Regions from separate parts of the Homo sapiens genome. Here region 2 is linked to region 1. Evidence: promoter capture Hi-C in human tissues and cell types (Jung and others, 2019). All regions are on one chromosome and are shown on one strand. The core of a region is centred on a gene start or on the middle of the fragment in contact, and the rest is flanking DNA. Distances in the headings are between cores, read along the strand shown.

Region 1 (2,834 bases), core at 37-2,536:
CTTCGGGGACCCAGAAACATTAAGGTGCACCGATATCTCAATTATCCGGATAACTCTAGACCTAGAGTCACCATGGAAACCTAGAACCCTGAGTCACAGAGAAGCTGGGCCATTCCTCTCCCTTCCCGGTGGTGCCGCAGTTCTTGAGATGTGAGCAGCTTTCAGCCCCGTGGCCTCGCCTAAGCTGGGGTTTCCTATTTCATCCACAACTTCAGGAATCTAAACTTTCCTGCAAAATATTGAGCATGTGACCTGAGTCCAAACAGCCATGGACTCAAGCACCTTCTGATAAAAACGGAAACCACAGTGTAGGGGGTGGTTTTGACCAGGGTTTCGGAGTCAGATAAACTCAGGTTTCCACCTTGAATTTCTCATCAATCTGACGTGGCAGGTTATTCATCCTAAGGTTCAGTTCCCACCTGTGTAAAGTGGGAGCCGCAAGTCCTCCGAGAGTGACGATGATGTGCGTGGAGTGCCCAGCCCAGATTGAAGCGCGGCCAAGGCGGGTCGCTATCTGGGCACCGCTCAGCTCCAGAGGGCGCCACTCCCGCGGAGCCTGCGGGATCGGGGCTTCCCGGGAGCAGCGCGATCAGCACCACGACTCGGGGACACAGCCAGGGCCCGGTTTCTACAGGAAGCGCCTCATTTGGAGCCTTTTTGTGATAGAATGATCATTAGTCCTAAGCCCATTCAGAGGTTCAAGAATGGGGTCGGCTCAATTTCAGGGCCTTATTACCCAAGCCCGGCTGCCCTTCGGTGCCACCAGCACCACTGCTCCGTCGCTGCGGAATTCCAAAGGCAGGTTTGGCGTTAGGGCCTTGGCCCCAGAGAGGACGCCGAGCGCTCCACGGAAAGTCTCCGCCCGGCTCCCAGGGCGCACACTCGCGCGCACGTGGGGCCGAGGCCCTGCTCCCGGGGCCTCAGGGCCAGCCGGCGAGGGACCCAGCCGAGTGACAGCAGGAGGCGGAGGGAAGGTTGGGCCGGAAGGTGTCAGCCCCGCCCCGCGCTCCCTCGCCGCCTCCGCCCTCCTCTTCTCTCCCCTCGTGCGTTCCCTCTCCTCTCCCTCCGCTCCCCCAACCCTCCTGCTGCCCCCTTCCCTCTCCTCCCGCTTCTCCCCATCCTGCCTACCTCCCTTCCCCTCCTCTTCTCTCTCCTCCCCTTCCCTCCCCTCTCTCTTCTCTCCTCCCTCGTTTCCTCCCCTCCCCTCCACTCGGCCGTCCCTCCTTCCTCCTCCCTCCTCCCTCCTCCTCCCGCTCCTGAAGAGCGCGCCGCGTGGGGGACGGCCCGGTTACTTCCTCCAGAGACTGACGAGTGCGGTGTCGCTCCAGCTCAGAGCTCCCGGAGCCGCCCGGCCAGCGTCCGGCCTCCCTGATCGTCTCTGGCCGGCGCCCTCGCCCTCGCCCGGCGCGCACCGAGCAGCCGCGGGCGCCGAGCAGCCACCGTCCCGACCAAGCGCCGGCCCTGCCCGCAGCGGCAGGGTAAGAGCTGGGCCCGCAGAGAGCGCCCGGCGCGCGGCTCCAGTCCCATGGAGGGTCACCCGGGGCCTGGGCGGGGGTCGCGGGGGGCACTGACACGCAGATCTCGGGGCGCTGCCGGGGGTGCAGGTGGGGGTGGCGGCTGCTGCGAGGACTCTAGGGGCGCGCGTCTGAGTTCCGCGCCGGCTCGTTTTCCGGTTATGGAGTGGCCTCCGGGGCTGGCGGGGTCGGCCGGGGGGTTCCTGCGTGCTAGGGCCGCTGTCTTCGGGGTCGCCTAGCGGCGGGCGCGGCCAGGGCGCGCTGGCTTGTTTCGCTCGCTTTTGTTTTTAAAAGGAAACGCAGGCCTGGTAGGGGGTCCTGCCCAGTGGATGTCCCGGCGAACATGATTTCGCGAACGGGAGTGGGGGCACAGGAGAGCGTGTCCGAGGTGGCCTGGCGCCCCGGCTTTGAGGGTGACTTCCTGGAGCGGCGCCGGGCCCGGAGGATCTGGGGCGCCCAAGACACCTGAAGGCTGCGGCACCGCGGGAACCTGCGGGGCGCGGGGTGCCATGGTCACCTGCTCGCCGCGTCCAGGGCCCGGGCTGGGGACCCCTCGGTCGTGCGAGGAGAGCGTGGGGAACCTGTCGGAAATGAGATCTGGTTGCGCTGGGCTGCCTTTATTTTCTCGTTCCTACAGCATTTGAATGAAGAGGTAACTGAGTGTTTGCTTGTGTGTGTTTGGGTTGCGTGTGTGTTATCCTATTTTATTTTTTACGGCAGGAGACCTTTTATGTTAGCCTGTACACAATTTCAGGGTAGCCTAAAACAGTAGTTGACGCGCTAGTTATTTAGAAAGTAAAGAAATGAGCAGTCCCCTTTGGAGACAGGAGTAATTTATTTTAATTCGCCAGTAAGAGATTATATTTGTTCCATACAATGGAAGCGCCTGTGCGTTATCTGCCTGCCCACACCACCACCAATCAGAGAGATAAATCTCCACGTTAAGCTTTATTAAAATTCTGAGTAGTAGCGCAGCACAGTAAATGTTAGCACCGACCATCCGCAGGGAAATGCTCAGATACTCATTTCTGGGATTAGTCATTCATCTCTCTAAACTGATCGCTTTCAAAGCGAAAAAAGCAAACTACCTTCAAATGTGTGTTACAAGGTTGTGTTGTTTCTTTTTTTTGTTTGTTTTCAAATTTATCTAAATAATCTTACATAAGTGATTACTTGTTCCAATAAGGGTACTGTTGTCAGGCAAATTCTCCTTGTTTTTAAATGTAACCATTCTCAGCTGTTACATTTCTGCTCTTTATCCTTTTTTTTTTTTTTTTTTGGTTTAAAAGCAGCGATCCATCAGCAACACCAAACTTGAAA
Region 2 (2,732 bases), core at 57-2,556, 140 kb after region 1:
GCCCAGCTCTGCCCTCCCAGCGAGGAATCTCCTGTGGAACATGGTGGGATCTCATTGTCCCTGCTGCAGGAAGTGGAGCAAAGAAACCGAGGTAGGGGGCCAGGTTCAGTGGCTCATGCCTGTAATCCCAGCACTTCGGGAAGCCGAGGTGGGCGGATCACCTGAGGTTAGAAATTCAAGACCAGCCTGGCCAACATGGTGAAACCCCATCTCTACTAAAAATACAAAAATTAGCCGGGGTGGTGGCACACGCCTGTAATCCCAGCTACCTGGGAGGCTGAGGCAGGAGAATCACTTGAACGTGGGAGGCGGAGGTTGCAGTGAACCAAAATCGCACCACTGCACTCCAGTCTGGGCGACAGAGTGAGACTCTGTCTCAAAAGAAAAAAAGAAAGAAAGAAACCGAGGCAGGGCCATTTCTCTCCCTTCCTGCAGTTCCCTCCCTTTCCTTCCCTGGCTTACCTGGTGTTCATCAACATTCCAGAATTCTGCACTGAAGGAATCCCATGCAAGTCTGTCTCACAGTGGGAGAGCAAGGCCCCTTTTTTATTCACGCGGGCTCTGGGATGACCAGGGTCAGCATAGCATGATTTACACACGCTGCTTGAACCAAATCAGTGAATGGAACAGCCCTGGAGTCATTGTAAACAAACCCAGATTCGCTGGACGCCCGCTGAGCTGAAAACCACAGGAAGAGGAGAGAAGACATACAAACCTCTTTCTCAAATGAGACTTTCTCCCAGAACCTAATGTTCGGGAAAAATCTTCCTAATTACTCGTTAATTGGCATATTATCAGCACTTTGTGCCAAGGATTAAGTGGGTAATTCCCATTATTTCTAGAGAGCAAGGTAATGCATCCACTCAGCCAGGCAGAGTGCGCGCAGCTCTGGAACTGTCACCACTGAGGCCTGCGGGCAGCCCCGTCCACGAGCCCAGTCCTCAGCCCTGCGGAAACGCTGGCTGCGCTGTTGAAGCCAACTCCTGAGACTTGTATTTTTCCGACAATGTGAAAAAACATTTCATCATTCAGCCTGATTTTCATTTCTCACTTCTTGGGTATACATTTTTTGAAAATGGATTTTCCTCTTAAAGAATAATTTATTGTGTAAGTCAGTCTAATTCTCCTGCTCCGGAACTTTGTGTTTTGAACCTCTTGGTCATTCAAGTAAGAGCACTGGGGTAATTTTAGCATTGCTAATTGGCTCGATAAAGAAATGTATTTTAAACAACTATGATTCAGCACTTAATCACAGCATTTGATGATATTGTCATTACAAAAACCTCTATTCTCCATTAAAAATAATTAAACCATCTTAAAGTTTGACCATCCTATGTTGGCCTAAACTTTCTATATTTCCATATTACTCAAATGTTTATGGACAAGAGAACTGTGGTACATAAAGAGAGAGAGAGAGGGAGAGATGGAGAAGGAGGGAGAAGAGAGCACGCACCCTGGAACTTGGGTTTAAGTCCCAGCTCTTCCATCTGCCGACTATGTCTGCAGAACAGTCCTCACCCTCTGAGACCATTTCTTCTTCTCTGTGGGGAGGATGTGCTGGGACCACAAGGTATCAGGACAGCCCTGTCCCCAGGGGTAGGGAAGAATGACCTCAGAAGGAAATGAGAAGGAAGGGGCTCTGGGATCAGGCAAGGGTCTAGCAGGGTGTACCAAGCACTCCTGTAGGGCAGGAGCCCCAGGGACATATGTGGAAGCCCATATATCTTGGGGAATATGTGGAAGCGCATATACAAGAAATGATCCCTCTCCTTCCTGGGTGTCTGCGCCATGGGACATGCTCTCGGAGGCAGCTTGCCAGAAGGGCCACCAGTCTCCAGTCACTATTCAGGCAGCCCTCTACTTTAGCCCCCAAAACTTTTAAAAGGTAAAAGTCTGAAAGTCCAAGAATGAATTTACCTATTTTACCAGTTAGGATCGGGTTGACTGCAAGTATCATAGATACCAAATCACAGTGGCTTAAACAACACGGGACTGGGTTTGGCTTCATTTTCCCTGCAAAGTGTGGCAGAAATGATCCAGCTCTTTTTCACCGAGCCTGCAGGACCTGGCCTCTTCATTCTTCCACTTGGCCCCCTCTAAGGTGAGGTCCTTGTCTCATGGTCCAAGATGGCACCCAGCCACCACATCTGCGTCTGCATCTACAGTGGGGTTTGTTGTTGTCACCTCATTGGCCAGAACCAGCCACATGTCTTCACGTAGTTTCACGGGAAGCAGGGAAACATAGTGATTTCTTCTAGGCAGTCATGTGCCCAGCCAAAAATTCCACGCTATGGAAGAAGATCTGGGGGAAATATAGCAAATTCTGCCTCTCATATTAGGGTGTAAGGAAGTGGTAGTTCTGTTTCCAGAAAACAAAAATGCCTGTAATGATGGTTTCATAAGTGCTGGCAACTCAGTAGGAAGGGGAGAGCAGCAGGAGAGCCTGGCCAACGGAGGTTGGTGCTGGTGTCACCTCCCTCCATCTCTCCTTTCTGGTAGCCAGTGCATCTCCCCACACCTCTGGAGAGGCCAAGACAGGCAGATGGGCAGCCATGTCCCCTCTACATGGACGCATTGGGTGCCTATAGCCAGGCTCGAGCAAAAGAGTCTGTCTTCTCCATTTTCCACAATGCAAGCCTTGTGGGGCTTCATCTCCAGTCCCTCCCCTCAACAAGCTCCCTCTGCAAGCCCTTTACCCTGAAGAGCGTCCACGGCATTTAGGGCTGCACAGG

What was found. The method cuts DNA at HindIII sites, captures the fragments that hold promoters and counts their contacts. A contact is called where the count stands out against the background at its distance.
Region 2: a contact is called between a fragment that was not itself captured here and the fragment with the promoter of ETS2 in region 1, in 3 of the 25 tissues and cell types used here (dorsolateral prefrontal cortex, heart right ventricle and mesenchymal stem cells).

Annotation. Positions count from the first base shown.
Region 1 is chr21:38,804,643-38,807,476 of GRCh38, forward strand. It overlaps ETS2 (ETS proto-oncogene 2, transcription factor), which reads left to right and starts at 1,287. Exons shown (of 10, transcript NM_005239.6): 1 at 1,287-1,478. RefSeq lists enhancers at 86-586, 120-259, 440-499, 510-669 and silencers at 780-1,109, 1,130-1,199, 1,390-1,679, 1,790-1,889, 1,910-2,009. The HindIII fragment of the contact is 2,481 bases long and covers 200-2,680 here.
Region 2 is chr21:38,945,120-38,947,851 of GRCh38, forward strand. No RefSeq gene overlaps it. Among named protein-coding and RNA genes, the nearest start is that of ETS2-AS1, 8.1 kb to the left of the region's middle. RefSeq lists an enhancer at 1-42 and a silencer at 1,418-1,546. The HindIII fragment of the contact is 7,094 bases long and covers 1-2,732 here.